Linked DNA regions of Homo sapiens: region 2 is linked to region 1. The links are contacts of gene promoters, found by promoter capture Hi-C in blood cells and fetal thymus (Javierre and others, 2016). All regions are on one chromosome and are shown on one strand. The core of a region is centred on a gene start or on the middle of the fragment in contact, and the rest is flanking DNA. Distances in the headings are between cores, read along the strand shown. Region 1 holds the start of UCK2 (uridine-cytidine kinase 2). Region 2 holds the start of MPZL1 (myelin protein zero like 1).

Region 1 (4,544 bases), core at 1,496-3,995:
ACAATCAAGGGAACAAGCCTTTCCTTCCAAAGTGACGGAAATTAAGTTTACTTGTTGGTGTCCTTACTTCCATATTCATTCATTTGTTCATTCATTTATCATGTATTAAATGCTTCCTACTTGCTTATCATTCTGCTCAGTGGGCCTGGGGGATGTAGAAATGAGACATTATCTCTTTTCATTTGTTGAGGCCCTACAAGGTGCCAGAACCGTTCCAGGCGTTGGGGATATAGTAATTAAAAACAAAACAAAACAAACCAAACAAGAAATGTATAAGCCAGTGTGGAGTAAGTCAATTAAAATTAACAAAGCAAAAGGAAGTAAGTCCTATAATAAAAATGCCTTGATGGATAGAGGGATGGGTAGATGACCAGTTATGTTTTAAAGCAAGTATATATATAGTACGATGTTAGTGATAGAGTCTAGGTGGTGGGTATACTGGTGTTTGCTGTAAAATCTTTCAACTGTGCTCGAAAATTTTTATGATAAAATATTATGGAATAAACACTATAGGAATGACAAGGAAGATGCAGATTTGAGAAAAGTTTATGAAAGACATGGCATTCTTTTTTTTTTTTTAAGAGACAAGTCGATAGAGGAGTGCAATGGCATGATCACAGCTGCAACCTCGAACTCCTGGGCTCAAGTGATCCTCCTGCCTCAGCCTCTGGTGTAGCTGGGACTACAGGTGTGCACTACCATGCCCAGTTAATTTTTGTACTTTTTGTGGAGATGGGGGTCTCATTATGTTGCCCAGGCTGGTCTCAAACTCCTAGCCTCAAGTGATCCTCACTCTTCTGCCTCCCAAAATGTTGGGATTACAGGCATGAGCCACCCCACTGGCCTTTGGCATTCCTTTATCCTCCTCCTCTTCTCCTTAACTACCTAATATCCCCATGCTAACCCTTAGCTGTAGGTTCAACTTCCAAATTCCAATGGGCTATAAAGAGTTCTACAAAAGTCCATGATGACTAATAAATCTATCTAGTAGAGAAAAGACCTTTTGGAGAAGAGGCTAACTCTAGGACCACCTAAAACTCACCCACTCCATAGCTATTTGGTAAGGCACCCCTTTAGGAAACTTCACCCAAATGCCTGCTTCTGGGTACCAGGTAGTGGCCACTCTCCCCATCTTTGTCTCCTGTCTGAGCTGCTACCGAGTTTGATGTTAGATGGTGACATAAAATACAGTAATTCCTAGATATATGCGGAGGGACTGGTCCCAGGACAGCCTACATGTAACCAAATCCACACATGAAGTCCCACAGTCAGTCCTGAGGAAACTGCACAAATATTGTGTTTTCCATCTGCCCTTGGTTTAAAAAAAAAGCTGCATAAAAGTGAACCTCACAGTTTGAACCAGTGTTGTTCAAGTGTCAACTTTAATTTAAAAGTGAAAAAAGTTTGTTTTCTCTGGTATCCTTTTTTTTGTTTTGTTTTGTTTTTGTTTTTGTTTTTTGACACAGGCTCTGGCTCTGCTGACCAGGCTGGAGTGCAGTGGGGAGATCATGGCTCACTGCAGCCTCGATTTCCCTGGCTTGAGAGAAAATTATTTTTTTCAAAATAATCTTCAATTTAAGGTAATTTACTAAGTTTCAAAAGATAATGCTATTGACGTAAATTCTGTTTTAGATTGTAGGCCCCATCAGCTCATTGATACTAGTCCCAAGTTCACAGGAGAAGAGACTGGAAGTTACTAGGCTAGTCCTGCCTCTCTCAGGTGTGTCCCAGCAAAACTTTTCTTTCCAGTTTCAGCGCTTTAGAAACCTTTTCTCTTCAAACACTAATACAGGGCCTAGACTGTACCAGCACTGTTCTGAGAACTTTACATACACTAATTCATTTAATTCTCACAAAAATCCTGGGATGTAATTGCCATTATTATTCCCATTTAACAGATAAGAACACTGAAGCACAGAGAGATTAAGTAACTTGCTCAGGGACCTGGATGTGAATGCAGAAATCTGGCTCCAGAGGTGGAGTCTGAAACTGCCTTTCTAAGTGACTGATTGCCAATCTCTGGAAAACCGTTCAATTGAAGATATTAATGGATCAAAATGTCAGTATGTTTTCAGATACCCTAACTCCATAGGAAGCTCAGTGTATGGGATGAGATACTGTGGTTTAGAAGGGAATTGCTTTTCCAACGGAGGGCACCCTTCAGATAAGCCCCTCAAATTGCCCTTCACTAGAGAGTCGCACGAGGACAGGCCTGCTAAAAAGGATGGCGCTGGGGGGTTTCCAAGACAGGAAATATCTAAAGCCAGCGGCTGACATATTATCTTGGCGAACGGGAGAAGGGAAAAAGAACCCTCATTTTTTGGAAACACAAGTTTTTAGCCTGGATAATGGGTAAATGACATTAACTCTTCGTTCCACACTAATCTTTCAAGCTTGTTCAAATTTTGCTTCTCAAACCTGGGCCATTCCTTCTTATCTAATCTGCCTATTATTTCCTTCAAGCTTTTTATCCCTTCTGAAAATAGGTGGTAGCATACCAAATTAAAATACAGAACAGCCTGTTTCTTTCCCCCAGGGTCCACTAGGGCGCGTCGGAGAAAGGGTTAACCGGGCGGGTGGGAGGGAAGGTCGGGCTCACACCTTTCGCAGAGACCTCGGGCGGCGGCGGGGCCCGGGAGGGGCGGAGGCTGGGGCCAGACGCCTCGCCGCCTCCGCCTCGGCGAATAGCAGCGCGCTGCCCGCCCGGATTGGAGCAGCAGCATCACGCTGACCTCTGCCTGGGATGTAAACCGGACCAGCCGCTGCGGGCAAAGGAAGGCTCTTGGCTCCTTCGGGAAACCCAGCCCCGTCACCGGGCTCCGAGCGGCTCGCAGGCGAGCGACAGCGGCCTCAGCCCCGGCAGCGCCCAGCGGCGGCTGCGGAAAGCGGAGGGAGTCCGACGCGGGCGCGGGCGGGGAGCGTGCGTCCGTTCGCACAGGCAGCGGGAGGAGGGGCGGCGCGAACCATGGCCGGGGACAGCGAGCAGACCCTGCAGAACCACCAGCAGCCCAACGGCGGCGAGCCCTTCCTTATAGGCGTCAGCGGGGGAACAGCTAGCGGCAAGGTACGGCGGGGCCCGGAGCCGCGCTCCCTTCCCGGCTTCTGTCCCTGGGCGGCGCATGTGGCCGGCGGCCGCGGGCCGTGTCAGTTGCGGCAGCCACCGCGTGGCCCGCGCGCCTCCGCTCCCGGCCGCGCTCCAGCGCCGAGTGCGCCCCGCGCGGCCTGGGGGCGCTGCGGCGGGGGCAGGCGAAGACTCGGGCCTTGGGGGTTCCGGGGGTACGCGGCCACGATCGCAGGGCGGGAGTGCTCCTCCGGCTTTTCTCCCCCCGCGTTAATAACTCGTGGCCGGGGTCCTATGGGGGAAGGGCAGGGAAGCGGATGCTTATTGTTTTGCAACTCCAGTGTCGGGGGAGAGGGCTTTCCGCAGGATCCCCCACTAACCCCCGATGGACTCCCTCAAGCCCCGGTCTGGCACAGACGTGCTCGCCCCGCGGCGCAGCCTGGTGCCGAGGGCGGAGCGAGCCGGGAAGCGCGGCCGAGAGGGCGAGGGTGGCGGGAACGCGCGAGGCGGCATCCCGGGGAAGGGGAGCCCAGTGTGGGGCTGCACGCAAGGGCTGGGGATTACAGGGGTTTCCGGGTAAAAGTCTGAGAGCCAAATAGGTGCCGTGACATCAATGAAACGATAATAGTAGGGGCTTCTGTTTTTTAAGGTTATAAGAGGAAACGTGGTCGGCTTCAATGAGAAAGTTGTACTGGCTCCAAGCTCTTCGGTGTCCAGGACGTACGCGTCTTGGATCCACGGAAGGGGGTCATCGTATGGGTGTCTGACCCTCTTAGGAGCCTGTTTCCTTTGTTTTATCCGCAAGGCAAGGAGAGACAAGGGAAATGACTTCCTAGCTTTACCCGGGGTTTTTTCTGCAGGTGGAGAAGGGTGGAGTCCTCCCAGATGGTTCTTTCTTTGCTCCCCTAACAGCCTTTAAGATGTGGCTACTTGTTTTTCCCACCGTTTAACACCCTCCAACTTCATTTGGAGCACGGGTTCCTCAAGGGATCCTGAGAGCTGGGTGCTGGGTGCTGGTTTGGAGAGGCAGGATGATGCTTCTCCCGGCTGGGGAGAGCAGAGCAGGAAGGCTGGTTGGCGCCATGAGGAAAGAGCCACGAGGTTTTAGCTCCCGAACCGACTCGTCAGTAGCCCCTCCTCCATGTTGGTTTTACATTTTTCCCTCCTGGTCTGGACTACTTTAGCGCAAGGAGCCCAGCCAGACACGGCGGCTGGCGCTGCTGGACTTCTTTATTGATGAAGTTGATCTCGTCCGTAGCTCCCGGGGTTAGGAATCGGCCTGCTTTAGGTCCTGAAGTTTCTGTTCTGTGTGCTCCCTGGTTGAAGGCTTTTAAAAAAATTTGTAATTTTTGAGTATGTTCTTTACTATGACTTATACTAGTAATTCAAAGCAAAACCAGAATGCTAGCCCTTCAGGAAGCTTTACCTGTTCTTTTAGAATTATTCTTGCTCTTCTGGCATATTCCTGTTGGATTGGGAGCAT
Region 2 (4,544 bases), core at 1,235-3,734, 1.9 Mb after region 1:
TCCCCTCTTTCCCTCACTCCCCTCAAGTTGCAAACCACAAAGGATTCACCTAATGTTTCTCACACTTGGTAGGTGATTTCTTTTCTCTGAATGTGCTTTTCCTGTTTTCTCCGTTCTCTGAGTTTGCTTTTCCTGTTTTCTCTCTGGTGAATTATTCATCTTTTAAAGTTCACCTTAAATGTTTTATCCTTGGTGAATCTTTCTAGATGCTTCTTGGGCCAGTGGATTTTAGGAGAGCGAGGTATATGTGGCTGAGGTACATCACAATCAGCAGAGAAGCTTTAAACACTGCTGAGAGTCACTGTCCCTGCTGGCCTTGGGTTTCTTCTTTATTCACTCTTCCTTTTTTTGAGACGGAGTCTCGCCCTGTCGCCCAGGCTGGAGTGCAATGGCGCGTGATCTCGTCTCACTGCAACCTCTGCCTCCCAGGTTCTGTAGCAGGATGAGCCGCAGACAAAACTCCTCAGACACGGAGTTAAAGAAGGAAGGGGTTTATTCGGCCGGAAGTATCGGCAAGCCTCCTGTCTCAAGAGCCTAGCTCCCCGAGTGAGCAATTCCTGTCCCTTTTAAGGGCTCACAACTCTAAGGGGGTCCGCGTGAGAGGGTCATGATCAATTGAGCAAGCAGAGGGTACTGTGAATGGGGGCTGCATGCACCGGTAATCAGAACGAAACAGAACAGGACAGGGATTTTTACAATGCCTTTCCATATAATGTCTGGAATCCATAGATAACATAACCGGTTAGGTCAGGGGTCGATCTTTAACTACCGGGCTTAGGTCAGGCAGGCCCAGGCCTGGTTTCGGGTCTGGTTCTTAGGCGCCGGGTTACCTGCCTTTAATTTCGCTTCTCTTTCCTTTTCTGAGTATAAAACTATATGAGAGGTTCTGTCTCTCTTCTCTCAGTTCAAGCGATTCTCCTGCCTCAGCCACCCGAGTAGCTGGGTACAGTCACGCGCCACCCATGCCCGGCTAATTTTTTTGTATCTTTTAGTAGAGATGGGGTTTCACTACGCTGGCCAGGCTGGTCTCAAACTCCTGACCTCGTGATCTGCCCGCCTCGGCCTCCCGAAGTGCTGGGATTACAAGTGTGAGCCACCGCACCCGGCCCTCATTTTTACAAATGTAATTGAGTACTTGTTTGTGTACACTAGTAGACGATGTGCTTCTTGAGAGTAAAGCCCAGGTGTTCTACATCCATGGTTCAATTAATGCATTGGTATCTTTTCCAACCTATGGCATTTGAGATACAACTTCAAAAGGATCTGCTGACAGAAATAGGGCAAAGTGGTTCTGGTATTTTTTTTTTTTAAGTTTTTTTCTCACTAATGTTCTTATGATTTCGCTGTACTGCAATGTTAGCTGAAACAGCACAGATATCAGGAATGGCATTGTTAAGACTGACCTTAGACAAAAACCCTGAAGTGAGAGGTTACATTTTGGGTTCTCACCATACTCTTCCCCCGCTCTTGTCCTAATTGTCTAAAGCTTGCTTCCCTTCCTCATCGTATCAGCCTCCCACCTGAATCTTCCCTTTTCCTCCTTCACACTCATCTTTCTTGTGCCCCTGTCCCCCATTTTTCCCTTTTGTAAGCCATTTTCATAAGGATCCTTCCAAATATTTCCCCTATTGATTGGACAACCCGTAGGTGGCAGACTGTTCTGGGCCAAGGCAACCAAGTTGAGCAGGGCCAGCAATCAGTGTCGGGAACTTCTGCAGGGCACTTCAGAATCAGTGTTGGGAACTTCTGCTTTCTATTTTTCACGGACACAGACAGGAACACAGATATGCGAAAGCAAAACAATCAAAAAGCATTTTCATTTGTTTTTCAGGTAGTAGGAAAGAGTTCCAGATTCCCATCCTTCTGAAGCCAGGAGGGAGGTTCCTAAGAGGAGGTTAGGGCAAGATGGAGACTTCTTTTTAAACTAGTAGATTTCGCAAATTGCAACACATACATTATCTAGTCCACGCAAAGGACAGGCCTTGGGGACACGGCACGGGGAACGTGTTCCACCTGGACGACTGAATCAGAAGTCTCTCCCCCATCAATTGAACGCCTCATTATTTTTCTTTCTGTCTTTTCTTTCTTTTTAAGGTAAATGAATTGCTTCTTTTTCGTTAGGTGAGGCCGGCAGAGAACAAGAAGAGCTGAAACGGAGGCGAGGTTAGTACCCAGCAAAGACCTGTGGCGAGGAGAGACAATGAAGAGGACCACGGGACTGGACCCTGAGAAAGGCAGAGGAGACGCTGGCTGGTGGGGCCCGCAGGCGGACAGCCACGCAGGCAGGCGGAAGGCTCGGCTCGGCCTGGGACCGCTGCAGACCCGGCCTCCGCGCGGGGCCGAGGCGCCTGGGTGGGACCGAGGAGGCGGGGCCTTCCCGGCGGACGGATGATGGACAGCCTGACTCTCCAATCGCGTCCTTAAAAGGGTGCGGGCAGGCCAATGAGCGGACAGCGAGGGCCGGAGTGGGGCTGAGGCTTCGGTGCAGAGCTGGAGAGCCGCGGCTGGGACCGGAGTGGGGAGCGCGGCGTGGAGGTGCCACCCGGCGCGGGTGGCGGAGAGATCAGAAGCCTCTTCCCCAAGCCGAGCCAACCTCAGCGGGGACCCGGGCTCAGGGACGCGGCGGCGGCGGCGGCGACTGCAGTGGCTGGACGATGGCAGCGTCCGCCGGAGCCGGGGCGGTGATTGCAGCCCCAGACAGCCGGCGCTGGCTGTGGTCGGTGCTGGCGGCGGCGCTTGGGCTCTGTAAGTGATGCCAGGACCAGGGCTGGGGCCGGGGAGTGGGGCCCCCGGGCCCGACACACGCCCATCGCGGCGGTCGCAGGCCAGGCGCGCGCACTGAGAGCCGAGGTGGGGAGGGGGCGCGGCCTGCGCTCTCTGGGGCCGAGGGGACCCAGCCCATGGGGAACGCGGGCCTCCGCGACTGGCCGGGAAGGCGCAGAGCCTCTTTCTTCTCTTTCCTGGATCCTGGAGTGCGGAGGAGGAGGGGAGAGTGCTTTACCTTGCTCCTTCCCGGGGGGCGGTCCAGGGGAGCGGACCCGGCGGGCGGCTGCGGTGAGCCCTCGCGGCGCACCCTGCCCTCTCCTCGTGGTGACTCTGGATCGTCTAGGCCCTCCCGGATTCTGACTCAGGAACTAGGGTTCTGGCGTTCTTCACCTTTGGGAGGTGGCGGAAAGTTGCAGGTTTTTCATTTGTAGGGCCTTTGTTGATTTGTTTCCTGTTAAGCCAGGGTTTTGTTGTAAGTTCCCTTTCCCATGCTCTCATTCAGTTTTAAGTCTCCGTAATAAAAGAGTCTCATTTCCGTGGTCTGCAAAACGCCAATAAAAAAATATTGTTACTTCTAGGTTAGAATGCAAAGAGCTTGGAATACCAGTGAGATGGCCTGGCTTAAAAGAATTTGGTCAAATCCATCATAATTCCAGACGTAGCCACCATAATTTGACAAGACATAGAGCATTAAAAAGCATAATTTTCCTAAAGGAAAAAAAAAGCTCCTTTTTCTTACCAAATATTGTGACTCAAGCTTAAGGTAAACCTCGGGCTCAATTTATGGGAATTGGATGACTTGTTTTATGGACATCTGAAGTGGTATCTGCCACAGGACTTTTCTGTGTTGTTGTTCAAAGCAAAGTACTTGTTGCTGTCTCCGAATTTAGTTAAATAATAGTTATAAAGAGGGCCAGCTGCTAAGAAACCACGTAGATTTTTTTCATTCCCTTTGTTTTCAAAATGTCAGTTATGATTTAGCATCACAGTATCTGAATACCAGAGTTTACTCAGTAATTTCTTTCTTCATGGAAAAGTTCTTAATATAATCCTTGGATCAGGGAAACTAGGTGAAGTTCTGTTGGATCACCAACTGTTCCACTTAAACAGTGATTCCAGGGGCTGTAAAGCATAAATGTAAAAGTCTCCCTACCCTCCAGGGGTTGACAGATGATGACACACTTTGTGTAAGACACAATCCATTCTGTATTTTGTCTTAGAAAAAAAGGTTAAAAGTGTGTTTGTTGGTGGTGGTATTTGTGTTTAATCAAACAAGTAGAAAATAGCCTAAAATTAAGGTTTATCAGAAATATGCTTCAGACAGAATTGTTATGCATGAGAGGTCAGACATTGCTATGGAGGACAAAGCAGTTAGGGTGATCTTAATTAAAATCAGGGTATTAAACGTAGAAGGAGTGCAAAACTACATAGTAGTGAAAAGATCACTAGAGTAATAGCCCCATACAACTTGGACGTAACTCTTCAGTAATGAAGATGAATGTTGATATGTAAAAATCAGCAGCTGATGTTATTGGTTCAACTTAGAAAATTATTGAATCTAAAATTCTTGCCAAATCACCTCTTTTCTGGTCATGGATACTGCACATAAGAGTTTATCTTTTACAGGATAGCTTCTAAAGTTTTATCAAGACAGTTACTCAGCAAACATTCACTGAGCACCTTTTAAGTGCTTAACACTTAAAAGGTGGGAGGTTAGGTCTCACTGTGTTGCCCAGGCTGCTCTGGAACTGAAACTCCTGGGCTCCAGTGATTCCTCT

Evidence for each region. The method cuts DNA at HindIII sites, captures the fragments that hold promoters and counts their contacts. A CHiCAGO score of 5 or more calls a contact.
Region 2: the fragment with the promoter of MPZL1 here is called in contact with the fragment with the promoter of UCK2 in region 1 in 1 of 17 cell types (fetal thymus); the score reaches 6.3 in fetal thymus.

The regions. Positions count from the first base shown.
Region 1 is chr1:165,824,869-165,829,412 of GRCh38, forward strand. UCK2 (uridine-cytidine kinase 2) reads left to right here and starts at 2,746. Exons shown (of 7, transcript NM_012474.5): 1 at 2,746-3,064. The coding sequence starts at 2,966. RefSeq lists silencers at 2,535-2,784, 2,865-3,344, 3,405-3,634 and an enhancer at 3,100-3,653. The HindIII fragment of the contact is 2,018 bases long and covers 2,462-4,479 here.
Region 2 is chr1:167,719,498-167,724,041 of GRCh38, forward strand. MPZL1 (myelin protein zero like 1) reads left to right here and starts at 2,485. Exons shown (of 6, transcript NM_003953.6): 1 at 2,485-2,745. The coding sequence starts at 2,655. RefSeq lists enhancers at 87-586, 2,813-3,313 and silencers at 2,125-2,494, 2,885-2,954, 2,985-3,124. The HindIII fragment of the contact is 2,037 bases long and covers 1,485-3,521 here.